2 separate regions of the Homo sapiens genome follow, and region 1 is linked to region 2. Evidence: promoter capture Hi-C in human tissues and cell types (Jung and others, 2019). All regions are on one chromosome and are shown on one strand. The core of a region is centred on a gene start or on the middle of the fragment in contact, and the rest is flanking DNA. Distances in the headings are between cores, read along the strand shown.

What was found. The method cuts DNA at HindIII sites, captures the fragments that hold promoters and counts their contacts. A contact is called where the count stands out against the background at its distance.
Region 1: a contact is called between a fragment that was not itself captured here and the fragment with the promoter of ZFP69B in region 2, in 2 of the 25 tissues and cell types used here (aorta and hippocampus).

Annotation. Positions count from the first base shown.
Region 1 is chr1:40,383,406-40,390,132 of GRCh38, forward strand. The region is part of intron 1 of SMAP2 (small ArfGAP2); the gene reads left to right. Among named protein-coding and RNA genes, the nearest start is that of SMAP2, 13 kb to the left of the region's middle. RefSeq lists an enhancer at 2,340-2,609. The HindIII fragment of the contact is 3,706 bases long and covers 1,632-5,337 here.
Region 2 is chr1:40,447,621-40,455,103 of GRCh38, forward strand. It overlaps ZFP69B (ZFP69 zinc finger protein B), which reads left to right and starts at 2,856. Exons shown (of 5, transcript NM_023070.3): 1 at 2,856-3,468; 2 at 6,583-6,668. The coding sequence starts at 3,342. It overlaps ZFP69B-DT (ZFP69B divergent transcript), which reads right to left and starts at 2,419. Exons shown (of 5, transcript NR_198977.1): 1 at 2,200-2,419. RefSeq lists a silencer at 2,475-2,734 and an enhancer at 2,950-4,149. The HindIII fragment of the contact is 23,553 bases long and covers 1-5,006 here.

The DNA.
Region 1 (6,727 bases), core at 2,235-4,734, 64 kb before region 2:
CCCTGTGATCAAGCGGAGCAAGGGAGGGATCCCAGCGCAAACAGGCAAAGACACAAAGGCACTGAATTCTCCAAGATGTAATTTCTTTCCCCTTATAGTATTTGAATTATTTTGGACAAGAGAACGGAAGGGTTTTCCGGCAGATATAACATTGCGTGCTTCTAAAGGATCTTGACTGTTGCTGAAACAATTATTAGTCCCAGGAAGTAATGTAACAACTCAGTCATAGTTTATATACTTAGGGGGTATGACTAGGCAAATTGGCTCCTGTATTGAATATGTATTTGACTGTTGGCTGCTGCCAGGAGCAACTTATCGTTTGGTTACTCAGAAAATAAGTTCCCACCCTGTCAATTCTGGGAAGTCTTAGGTATGGTGTATCCACATTGAGTATATCTACAACTGGACAGCTTGAGTTAGTCACACAGAAGCCATACACAGAAAATGTTGAGGATTGCAGCGTTAAAACATGGTACAGCTCACTCTTTTTTTTTTCTTTCGTTTTTCTGGAGACAGAGTCTTGCTCTGTTGCCCAGGCTGGAGTGCTTTGATGCGATCTCAGCTCACTGCCTCCTCTGGCTCCCGGGTTCAAGTGATTCTCATGCCTCAGCCTTCCAAGTAGCTGGGATTATAGGTGTGTACCTCCATGCCCAGCTAATTATTTGTATTTTTAGTAGACACAGGGTCTCACCACATTGGCCAGGCTGGTCTCAAACTCCTGGCCTCAAGTGAGCTACCTACCCTCCTTGGCCTCCCAAAGTGCTGGGATTGCAGATGTGAGCCACCAAGGCCGGGCCTCAGCTCAGTGTTTTCTTTACAGTTAAGGTAACTGCAGTGTGGCTGTTTTATCTTGTGCTGCATGTTAGTTTAACTAGTCTTATTGATTTGTTTGTTTTACCCCACAACTTCAGATAAGTTTGCACTGGGTGAGGGAGGCAAGATCACTGGGTCTGTTTTCTTCTACCCTGACCTGAAAAAAATATTTTGTCTTGTAAGGAATGTTGCTGCTGCTCCATTTAAGGGCAGAGCTTTCCAAGTTGTGGCTACTTGTTTTCTACGTGATTATAAAAGTGTCTAATGAGTTATATGAGACAAGTTCAGCCCTTTCTAGAAGTGCTTTTTTTGTCAATCAGGTCACCTGCATTTGGGCCCTTGCTATATTAATGGAATTGGTGGAACTAGGCCAGCAGAGTTTTCAGTGCAGTGTGAGTATGTTTGCTTTTAGGCTGTTACTTCCCACAGAGGCCACAGATAAAGGACTCTCGTTGTTTGAGTGAAGTTACCAACTGTAACAATTGCATAGGTTTCCTTGTTTCTTTCTTTTCTCCAAAAAACTCATTTCCTCTTGGCAGGTGTTACTATAATTCACAGGTGTAATGAAAATGTAATTTGGGATTTGAAAAAGCATATCAGACTGCTTCCCAGAGTACCAGTTCTTTTCAGCTGGTCCATTTCAACTTAAGAGGTCCATCTATGCATTTTTGAAGCTTCATATTTAATAAATATAATATTTCACTGCTGTGTTTGACTATTCCGTTTCCCACACTTTCTCCTTCCCTACCCCACTCTTCTGGATCCTGTGTTTCCCCACAGGCTTTGTGAATGCCGGTCCACTGATGGCTGAACTGCAGGTCTCTCCCCAGTGGAAAGCCCCAGAGATGAGCCAGATCTGCCTCAGCTGTGGCCATCCGTCAGCGTAAGGTTGCTCTGGTGGTCGTCTTCAGTTTGTCCAGCTCTTCCCCTTATCCCCCATCCTCCCTCATGTGTGGCTGAAGCTTGCCCTGGAATCCCACCTTTGTAGCATGTCACTCGGTAGTAGTAGAATTTTATTATTGTTGCTTTTTTTCATTTTCAATTAATGTTAAGTGATTCTCTGACAAATTTTGTTGACCATAGCCCTCTTTTCCCCTCAGTTCATAGATTTCCTATAGGAATTCTGGTTTGCTTTTAAATACATATAGAATACAGTTTATTTAAGTTCTGGATTTCATAAGCTTACTTGGAAAATACTTTTTTAAAAAAAACATTTCAGGTCAAAGCTTCCAAAAAGAAATTTCTTAATCTGAAACAATGAGAACTGGGTTCCTCAGGCCTCATGTCATTTCCCCTCACCCACAAATCAAATGTGTAATGCTCTCATTTTATGATGTATTGAAACAGTGAAGCAAATGCGAGAGGGAGAGAGACCTACTCTCAGCTGTAGCTGATAAGTGTGTCCTAGCATGGTGATTTGAGCAAATAGAGCACCTTTTCTTTTCCTTTTCTTCAAATAGCCATGCTGTCTTTTGCAGCAGTTGCTGGTGACGGAATACCATAAATCCCCAGGCCTCTACCACAGAGCTTACATCTTTAGATGTGGGTTTACATGTTAATCCTACAATGTTATTTCACCTCAGTGGTCTGAAGTGCGCACACAGTACATTTTGTTCTTTAACTTCCTCTTTTCTTGTCTAACTGGAAGTCCCCAAATGTGTGGATTTAGAAATGAGTTCTCTAGTGTTTCTAGTTTTGAGTTAAGGAAGTTTTGTCTTGATATTGTTTAGGTGGTTGTTTTTGTTCTGTGCCTTCAAAAATAATTTCTTACAGAATTTTCTGTGTGAACTGGTGACATCATATGCTGTAGTGTAAAGCTTGTAGAGAAGGGGGCATTGGTGTCTTTTTGTTGTTGTTGACACTTTATCACTCCTTATAACTGACACAAACCCTGAGAAGAGAAACAGGAAGGAAACTCCCTGTTCTTACCATGATGCTTTTGTTCAAAATAGCTGAAAACAGCAGAGCTGACGGAAACCAATTTGAGTGTGACAGCTGATTTGAGAAAGAATGAATTAAGAGATTCAGGCTCTTCTGCTATGTTGAAATCATTTTTACTGAAAGATTAGCTGTTTGGAACAGGGATTGACTTTGTCTCTCTGAAAGTAGGCATGAAGAGTTCGGTTAGAGGAACCGTTACAGATGGAGGAGAAACTTGAGGAAAGGTCTTTCCTGTAGTGTGACTACAGTATTAACATTCCCAGATTATATGAAAGAGAAAGGAAGCTTCATTAAATGAAACATTGGAATCAGGAAGACTCCGGCTTGGCTCCCTGAGCATTCTAACTTGTTCTGAGCCTAGTCTCGACAGAAGTAGCCTGACACAAGTGGCTCAGATCAAGGGTCCATATTACGGGCAGAGTAAAAATAGGTCCCAGTTTCATTAGACTTCTCATACATTTAAGGAAAAAAAGATTTGTTGCCATAGGAACAGACCAGTTGTTTTCTGTCTTGTGGGATTTTAGGAGCTGGGGAGATAGGAGGATCCCTGTGCTTATAATCTAAACATCAGTAAATGCTGGTTTTTTTTAAAACAACAACAACTTTATCTTTTATGATTCTGAAACCTATCCACGATAAAAATCATTGGAAAGTATGAAAAATATAATGATGCTGAAGGTATTTTTCATAATTCTTTTTTTTTTTTTTTTTTGGAGACAAGGTCTCTCGCTCCGTCGCCCAAGCTGGAGTACAGTGGCACGATCTCAGCTCACTGCAGCCTCTATCAGGCTTAAGCAGTTCTTCTGTCTCAGCCTTCATAGTAGCTGGGACTACAGGTGCACACCACCACGTCCAGCTAATTTTTGTATTTTTAGTACAGACAGGGTTTTGCCATGTTGCCCAGGCTAGTCTCGAACTCCTGAGCTCACATCATCTGCCTGCCTCGGCCTGCCGGAGTGCCAGGATTACAGGCATCAACCACCATGCCCGGCCTTATTTTTCATAATTCTTATCACCCATTTACTTGAGCTTATACCATAATGATTTTATATCATTCTTTTTTGCTTAACATTTATTATAAGCTTATTTCATGACATTAAAAACGTGTAAATACCTTTATTGTATCCCAGCATTGGAATATGTCATTATTATCTCTTGCCCAATTGTTAATATTTGAATTTTCAATTTTTTAACAATACAAATAAGGAAGTATAAATTTTTGTGTTGTTGTTAGAGTGATGGGTTATTTATGTGTTCAGATTTGAGTAGTCAAGTGGGCCCTCTAATTTAAAAAGTTACCAAGGGGATTCTCTGGGTTGAGCCCACGTAGAGATGGCTTTGCTATGGGCATTATCATTCTGAACTGCTTCATTGCAGTAGATGTCTGCTGAGGCAAGGAATGGGGAATTCGGGAGAACCCTGGTTTCCCCATAAGGGACCTAAGGAACATAAGGGACATAAGGAACAGCTTTATGGGTCATACCACAGCAAGATGGGCCGGCACTTTCACATTGAGAGGTGACAGCGTGCTGGCAGCCCTCACAGCCCTCGCTCGCTCTCGGTGCCTCCTCGGCCTTGGCACCCACTCTGGCCGCACTTGAGGAGCCCTTCAGCCCACTGCTGCACTGTGGGAGCCCCTTCCTGGGCTGGCCGAGGCCGGAGCTGGCTCCCTCGGCTTGCGGGGAGGTGTGGAGGGAGCCAGCTCCGGGAACCGGGGCTGTGTGCCGCACTTGTGGGCCAGCTGGAGTTCCGGGTGGGCATGGGCTTGGCGGGCCCCGCACTTGGAGCAGCCGGCCAGCCCTGCTGGCCCTGGGCAATGAGGGGCTTAGCACCTGGGCCAGCGGCTGCAGAGGGTGTGCTGGGTCCCCCAGCAGTGCCGGCCCACCGGCGCTGCGCTGGATTTCTCACCGGGCCTTAGCTGCCTTCCCACGGGGCAGGGCTCGGGACCTGCAGCCCGCCATGCCTGAGCCTCCCCCCACCTCTGTGGGCTCCTGTGCAGCCTGAGCCTCCCCAACGAGACCGCCCCCTGCTCCACGGCACCCGGTCCCATCAACCACCCAAGGGCTGAGGTGTGTGGGCGCACAGCGCGGGACTGGCGGGCAGCTCCACCTGCAGCCCCAGTGCGAGATCCACTGGATGAAGCCAGCTGGGCTCCTGAGTCTGGTGGGGCCTTGGAGAACCTTTATGTCTAGCTCAGGGATTGTAAATACACCAGTCGGCACTCTGTATCTAGCTCAAGGTTTGTAAACACACCAATCAGCACCCTGTGTCTAGCTCAGGGTTTGTGAATGCACCAATCGACACTCTGTATCTAGCTACTCTGGTGGGGACTTGGAGAACCTTTGTGTGGACACTCTGTATCTAGCTACTCTTGGTGGGGATTTGGAGAACCTTTGTGTCCACACTCTGTATCTAGCTAATCTGGTGGGGATGTGGAGAACCTTTGTGTCTAGCTCAGGGATTGTAAACGCACCAATCAGCACCCTGTCAAAACAGACCGCTCCGCTCTACCAATCAGCAGGATGTGATTGGATGGGGCCAGATAAGAGAATAAAAGCAGGCTGCCCGAGCCAGCAGTGGCAGCCTGTTCGGGTCCTCTTCCACAGTGTGGAAACTTTGTTCTTTTGCTCTTTGCAATAAATCTTACTGCTACTCACTCTTTGGGTCCACACTGCCTTTATGAGCTGCAACACTCACCGCGAAGGTCTGCAGCTTCACTCCTGAAGCCAGCGAGACCACGAACCCACCGGGAGGAACGAACAATTCCAGACGCGCTGCCTTAAGAGCTTTAACACTCACCGCGAGGGTCCACAGCTTCACTCCTGAGCCAGCGAGACCACGAACCCCACCAGAAGGAAGAAACTCCGAACACATCCGAACATCAGAAGGAACAAACTCCGGACACGCCGCCTTTAAGAACTGTAACACTCACTGCGAGGGTCCACGGCTTCATTCTTGAAGTCAGTGAAACCAAGAACCCACCAATTCCGGACACAACATTATATACCTGATGTGCGGAAATACCCTTGCGCCATTGACTAGCATCTTATGTTGTTCATACAGTCCTCATTCACTTAAACTTAGTCCTCTAAGGAGGTGGATTAGAGGTCCTACATTAGTAGAAAGGAGGTAACAGCTACTGCATTATTATTTTTTTTTTGAAGAAGGGCCCTCAGACTGGAGATGAGGACAGGGACTGTGTTTTCATGTCTATCTGCATACTTAATGCACGGTGTCTGGCACATAGTGTCTATGTCCCTATTATGAGCAGCATTATTCTGTTAATGTGTGTTCAGGTCATATGCTTTGTTTTGTTTTTTGATAGTCTTCCTCATACTGTTAGCCCAGATAGCTGAAGATCTGTGACACCAGGAAGCTGAGCAGGTGAATCTCATGGTTGCTTTGTGGTAATTGCTTCTTTGTGCCATTTCATTTCTGTGCTTCTGCCACCTGTGCTGCTTTGGAAGCTGGAGCTAGACATGAAGCGAATCCTCTGCCCTCTCAGTAGGAGGTTTTGGTGTGACACATCATCCTGGGGAAAAATGTAGCATGAAGTGTGAAACAGGAGGCTGAAATAGCAGTCCTTTAGCCCTTTTGTGGGATGGGAGTAAATATTTAGACGTGGTTCTCAGGTGCTGTAGAATTTAATAACCTTGCAGCAGTTTTAGAAACTCCTTGTGCCCACTGGAACAGGTTCGTTTAAAGAATCTTACTTGGGCTCTTTTGAAATTGTGATGCCCCCACCTCCACCCACTCCCCTCCCCCGCCCACCCCCAGACCTGCCCTGAGTTCATCTGCCTAATGTTCCCTTTGCAGGATCTTTGTACTCACATGGCTGGTATCTTTGCCCCACCCCCTTATGCCATATATTTTGACCTCATTGTGTTCTATTCTGAAACGCCTGGGTTTTGAAACATCGTGGTGAATGTTTTCTTTTTCAAAGGGCAAATCTCCATCTTTTGCTCTCCTCCCT
Region 2 (7,483 bases), core at 1,606-4,105:
ATAATCCATCATTACCCAGCTGCTTTGAAACGCCAGCTTTACAATATACTAAATTTAAATAAAGTGTCAAGTCTGTTTCTGAGTTTCCAATTTCATCTCACTGATTTCCGAGTATATTTTGGCACTAGTTTTATTTTGATTATTTTGCCTCCATAATACAAGGTAATATCTGGTAGGGCAAGTCTGCCTTCATTATTGTTGGAAAACATTATTGGCCATTCTGGAACACTTGCCATACTAGCTAAACTTTAGAATCATTTAGTTTAGTAAAAAGAAAAGTTGATTTTCTTTTTTTTTTTGAGATGGAGTCTTGCTCTGTCACCCAGGCTGGAATGCAGTGGCATGATCTTGGCTCCCTACAACCTCCACCTCTTGGGTTCAAGCGATTCTTTTGCCTCAGCCTCCTGAGTAGCTGGGATTACAGACACACACCACCACACCCAACTAATTTTTGTATTTTTAGTAGAGATGAGGTTTCGCCATGTTGACCACGCTGGTCTCGAACTCCTGAGCTCAGGTGATCCACCCGCCTTGGCCTCCTAAAGTGCTGGGATTACAGGTGTGAGCCACCATGTCCGGCCGAAAAAGTTGAAATTTTGATTGGGATGCATCACAGTTTATGTGAACTGGAGGAAGAGTGACATACTTAGAATGTTCTATTTCAACTCGTGAATGTGTTGTATCACTATTCTCACCATTTAAACAAAAAATTTGGAGTTTTATTTATAATTTCCTGCATAATTCTTGTTTATTCTTAGCTGTATTTTTCTGATATTTTATTATGAAAACATATACATATACAGAAAAATTGAAAGAATTTTACATTACGGCATCCCTATACCACTACTTAGATTCTACCATTAACATTTTATTGTATTTCATGCTGTATTTTTGTTGAGTAGCAGATAGGAACATAGACTGCCTGTGTTCACCACTTGTAAGCCACATGATCTTGGCAAGTTATTCAACTTCTCTAAATCTCAGTTTTCTTATCTGTAAAGTGGGAATAATAATAGTACTTACTTCCAGTGGTTTCTGTGATGACAAAATAAGTTAAAATATGAAAGGCACTTAGGACAGAGCCTCATATTCTGTAACTATTATATGCTAGTGTATTCATCAGCTTGGGCTGCTGTAACAAAATACCATTGACTGGGTGGCTTAAACCACGGATATCTGGCCGGGCGCAGTGGCTCATGCCTGTAATCCCAGCACTTTGGGAGGCCGAGGCGGGCAGACACCGAGGTCAGGAGTTTGAGACCAGCCTGGCCAACATAGTGGAACCCCGTCTGTACTAAAAATACAAAAAATTAGCTGGGCGTCGTGGCGGGCGCCTGTAATCCTAGCCACTTGGGAGGCTGAGGCAGGAGAATCGCTTTAAGCCAGGAGGCGAAGGTTGCAGTGAACCGAGGTCACGCCACTGCAGTCCAGCCCTGCGGACAGTGCGAGACTCCATCTCAAAAAAACAAACAAACAAACAAACAAAAAACCGGAAATTTATTTTCTCAGTGTGGAGACTAGAAGCCCCAAGTAAGGTCGAGTTGGGTTCGTTTCTGACTAGGACTATATTCTAACCTTAATTACTTCCATAAAGGCCTTATCTCTAAATACTCTCCAAATACAATGGAGGTTAGGGCTTCAAGATAAATTTTGGGGAATCCAAACATTCGGTTCATAACAGCTAGCAAGTACTATAATTGTATTCTATTTCCTCATTTGTTGTTTTTGTAAACTGTTGATGTAGAAATGTATTTGGAGTGATGTACTCAAATTTTGTTGGAGGGAGAAAACTCAGCAATAAAACAGCATTACAGTATAATCGCTTTTGTGGAAAATATATAACAATGCATGAAATACGTTGTGTGTGTGCAGGAAAGGTTGTACACCAACTGTTAGCAAGGTTACCGCTGCTTGCTGAAATTACAGGCAATAATTTTTTTGTTTTTGTGTATTTTCTGGCATTTCAGAAATACAAGGTAAGCAATAAACATGAGAACTTTTATTGAATACTAGAAGAGAAAACTGTTGTGGTATTCTTTTAACAATATACCGGAATCCATTCAACTGTCTGCTGAGAATAAATAACTGGCATGTACATAATATTTAGGGAAAGTGCTATGGATTATTTTACACCAGTGTCGTTTCACCAAAAAACGTGATGCCGATGGCTCCCTTTTGTCACGGGTTTCAAAGGCTCACCCTAACGTTCACGTGCATTTTCCCAGCGGAGGAAAGATGGTTGTTCTTCATCAGAGTCTGGGGCCCAAGAACGCAGGCTCCATCTCCTCCCGCAGGAGCCAGGCTGATGATGCTCGCAGGGATCGGATACTGGGAGCCCCTGAACGCAGCCAACCCGGCGCGCACCGGTGGGGGCGTCTGCGCTGGCGGAGCGGCTCCCCGGGAGGACGCTGGGAACCATGCTCTAGCCAGCCGCTGCGCAGGCGCACTGGGCCCCGACTGCCCGCCGCAGCGCTACGTGGGAGCTTGGCCGCGCAGTGCCGGAACCCGGCTGCAGCGGTGGGAAGGCGGGGGCGTGCCGGCCCAGCGGGGAGAGGGTGAGCGGGTGGCTGTCCCGGGCTTGGGGAGCTGGGCGAGCCGGGAAGCGCGAGTTCCGCCCGCGGCCACCCTGTCGCGCGCGGTGCTCTCCGCAGCCCCGGAGTCGTGCTCAGACAAAGGCTGGGAGGCTAGGGCCGGGGGCGTTTTGCTTTGTGGGGAGGACTTAGCCTCTCATTTGGGGAGGAGGAGGCGGGGTCTAGCGGTTTCGCGGTTTGCTACAGCCGACTAGTGAAAGAGCTGGGATTCCAAATCCCCGGCTACTTTACACATAATTACTGCCCCAAACAAAGAATTGGGTTGTATTCGTCTCTTTGTGCTTCCTGACATGTGCGCGGTGCTTTGAATTTTGTGGGCTGTGTCTGCCCACCGTCTCCGTGTATCTTTTGGAAACATTTTACAGTGATCCATATATGTTCTAGCGTTCTGCCCTATGACTGAGCCTCCTTAGTCCTTTGCTGATTCTAATGTCTTCTGCTCAGCATCTGCAGGGGCTGCTGAGAGTAAATACTTGGCGCCTCCAGCTGCTGGCCAAGGAGACAGATGGAGCTCAAGTTGGGAGATACGCCCTGAGAGCCGATGATAGACACAAGTCCAGATCTCGGATTTTGATACTGTATGTTCCCTGGGTTCCTGAGAGAGGACATTGAGGAGTAGGAGTCGGCGATTAAGGAGATCGGTACAATTGGGAAGCCTCCTGTCAGAGCTTCCAGCAATTTCCTCATCAGAGGTGGACAAGCCCTATGGGCTAAGACAGAGGGTCCTCAGAAAGGAGTGCGGACGCCGTCATGCTGCAGCAGCTCCTGATCACCCTGCCCACCGAGGCCAGCACCTGGGTGAAGTTGCGTCATCCAAAGGCGGCCACGGAGCGGGTGGCCCTGTGGGAGGATGTGACTAAGATGTTTAAAGCAGAAGGTAAGAATAAACTGATGGGTGGGAGGGAGGAAAAGCAGTCCCCTCTAGTGTGAGAAGGAATGAGTCACTTGAGTGGAAGCATCTCTTAGGGAGACGAGTGGGTGGAGGGTTTCCGGAGTTGTTGATTGTGGCTCCTAGTCTGGGGTTTTCCTAAGTAGTGGTGGTCTTTTCAGCCTAGGACCAGTATTTCAGTGTCATGGTTATGTATATTATTTATTTTCATCTTTCCCATGGCCATGTGGGGCAGGATGGACTTAACCTGATTTTTCTTATTCTAACAGTGGGGAAATGTAAATCAAATGGGAGGCCTGCCCAGGGTCACACAGGAACTTGGTGGCTAGGTCAGAAAGAGAAGCAGCAGGGGAAGTACCAGGTGAGCCTGGAGTAACTTGTGCTAGAAAGCAAGGAAGAGCTTAAAGACTATGGATATGTGTCAAAAGAGGCCAGGTTTAAGGGTCTCTCACTCGACAGATTTGGGAAAGCTTAAGTATCCAAACTGATGGTAACACCTTGAATAAGTAAAATTCCACATGATCACCTTGACACTTAAAATAGAGAAAGACGTGGGGGGGGGGGAATTCATTTGCAAACATTGGAGGTAATTAATACACTGATTCCTTACTTTGAAAAATAGGTTATTATGGGAATGAATGTGCATTTACCTTGCCTTTTAGATCCTCTTCAGTTGGTGAGGGAAAGCTTTTTACAGAAAATGCGTGCCAATAATGAAGGTAGAAAGAGGCCAGGTGTGGTGGCTCATGCCTGTAATCCCAGCAATTTGGGAAGCCAAGGTGGGCGGATTGCTTGAGACCAGGAGTTTGAGGTCAGCAGTTTGAGACCAGCCTGGCCAACATGATGAAACCCCATCTCTGCTAAAAATACAAAAATTAGCTGGGCGTGGTGGCACATGCCTGTAATCCCAGCTACTCGGGAGGTTGAGGCACGAGAATCGCTTGAACTAGGAAAGGGGAGGTTTCAGTGAGCTGAGATGGCGCCACTGCACTCCAGGCTGGGTGACAGAGCAAGACCTTGTCTCAAAAATAAATAAATAAATAAATAAATGTAGAAAGAATGATAGAATCTTTTACCGTAAATAAAATAATTGAAAGGTTAATGGGGAACAGATACTCACATGATATCAAAGTATTATCCCCTCAAATTACTTACTAAATGGCAAGGAATGAACATAATTTTCCAATAGTGAGGTGTGGTGGTCACAGTTTTAATCAAATGTCTCAGTAATGGGATAGCCGGGCATTTTATACTTTGCAGATACTGTAATATAAAGCACCTGGTACCACCTACAAGGTATTCCTACCAAAAATGTTGAACATGATCCTAAATTAAGTTTAAAGACTGAACTGCTGGTTTACAGAAAATACAGGGGATGGAGAAATGAGATAAACCTCACATTGAGGATACAGTCAGACTGTTCTTGTATCTTAAAAAGACAACATCATGAAGAAAGGGGAAGTACTTATTCTAGAGTAAAAGAGACTAGAGGTAACAACCACTTTGAATGTGTGAGCCTTGATTAACTCCTGGTTTGGAAAAAATCCAGAATAAAAGTTGAGGAAACAGTTGAGGAAATCTGAATATGGACTGAATATTTAGATGATACTATGGAATTATTGTTAATTTTCATAGATTTAATAAATAGTACTGTGGTTGTACAAGAGAAGATCCTTATTTGAAATATTTAGGGATAAAGTATTATGATGCAGACGACTTTGAAGTGCTTCAGAAAAAATGTAGATAGGTAAAGCAAATATGGTAAATATTAACAATTGTTGAATCTAGATGTGGATGTATAGATGTTCAATATTCATGATAAAAAGTTGGAATAAAATACAAAGACAGTTATTCATGTGCCTTAATTCCTAGTGGTTTTTTTTTTTTTTTTTTCCTGTCACCCAAGCCGGAGTTCAATGGCTCGATCTTGGCTTATTGCAACCTCTGCCTCCCGGGTTCAAGTGATTCTCCTGCCTCAGCCTCCCAAGTAGCTGGGATTACAGGCGCCTGCCACCACGCCCAGCTAATTTTTGTATTTTTAGTAGAGACGGTGTTTTACTATCTTGGCCAGGCTGGTCTCCAACTCCTGACCTCGTGATCCACCCACCTCAGCCTCCCAAAGTGCTGGGATTACAGGCTTGAGCCACCGGGCCTGGCCTGTAGTGCATATTTTTAATACCTCAATTCAGCCAGTGTTACTTAAATTCTAGAAAGCTGGCAGTGTGTTATGTGTAGCACTTTAGCAGATGGAGAAAAATGAGCAAGGTACAGTTTCTATCCATACCCTCATTAATACTCAACTGAGAGAGATAATTAATTATAAAAAGCAACCTGAGATAGATACTAGAATAGATATAAAAACCAAGCTTTTGGGAAGCATAGGAGAGAATAAACTTTCTTCTCATTAAGGGTGTCTGGGAAAACTTTACTTGAACTGGGCCTGAAGGGTATCGCAGTTTTTCACCAAATAGGATTTGGGTGGGGTACTATCCACATGTATTCAAAGAATGGTACCAGGATTGTGTGGGTAGGTGTGTCCAGTGGATGAAGGATAATGTTTAGAGGAGATAATACTTGGAGAAGCCATGGACTGGTTGTGGAGGATCTTGAAATCTATGTTGATTAGTTGGGCGTGGTGTCACACGCCTGTAATCCCAGCTACTCGGGAGGCTGAGGCACGAGAATCTCTTGAACCTGGGAGGTGGAAGTTGCAGTGAACCAAGATTATGCCACTGCCCTCCAACCTGGGTGACAGAGCAATACTCTGTCTCAAAATCATAATAATAATTAAAAAATAACAAAAAAGAAATCTATATTGAAGTGTTTGCATTTTTCTTTCATGTCAGTGGGGAAACCTTTGAGGATTTTTGAACAAAAGATTGGCCTGAGAGATTACTAAGACCATTGGGAAATATTAATGGTGAAAGCAGCTTGCAGCAGGTCCTCCTTATTAAGGAGGCTTTGAGCTGCTCTTGAGTCCGTCTAAATGTCCCTGTTTGTGAACGTTTTTGGGGAGAAGCCACAATGAGTGGGTCTGTAGGCAGTTTCTCTGTTTGGGTGATTTGGGGAGATGCAAACCTCATGGCTCTTTTCCTTCCCCAGCTCTGCTGTCTCAGGATGCTGATGAGACCCAGGGCGAAAGTTTAGAGAGTAGAGTGACCCTTGGATCCCTGACAGCAGAATCCCAGGTGGGTTGGAGTTTCTGGTCACTTTCTTGACATTGTTTCTCAGATTTTAAGAGCGCAGGAGTTTGATTTTCTTTGACTCAACTTCCTGGATTGGCTTTTCTTTTTTTTTCTTTTTTTCATTATTTTTTGAGACGGAGTCTCACTCTGTCACCCAGGCTGGAGTGCAGTAGCGCAATCTCGGCTCACTGCAAGCTCCGTCTCCTGGGTTCACGCCATTCTCCTGCCTCAGCCTCCCGAGTAGCTGGGACTACAGGTGCCCACCACCACACCTGGCTAATTTTTTGTATTTTTAGTAGAGACGGGGTTTCACCGTGTTAGGCAGATGGTCTCAATCTCCTGACCTGGTGATCCACCCACCTCGGCCTCCCAAAATGCTGGGATTACAGGCATGAGCCACCACGCCCAGCCGATTGGCTTTTCTTAGCCTGTTCTTCCTCAGAAAACCAGGCCACATCAGTTGATTTCACAGGTAATCTCCCCACCAGTAGTAACCCTCCACAGGAAACCTCTTGTTTTTGCAAACCTCTAGCCATTTATCCAACAAATACATTGTGCTGAGGCCGCATGTGTGTGTGAGAGAGAAAAGGAAATAGAGAGGAGAAGAAGTAATGTAATGTAGTCCTAGCCCATGAAATTCACATATCATCTGGGAGAAAGACAAATATGAGTCATTTTAAGCAACATTTAAAAGTCAACAGAATCAGTTTCTGATATTCTTGGAGATGTATACACTTCATTGATGACCTTTAAGTGAGGATTTTTGGTCAAGTCCTAGAGCAGAACTGTAACTGAAAAGAGAAATGAGTAGAGAAGAT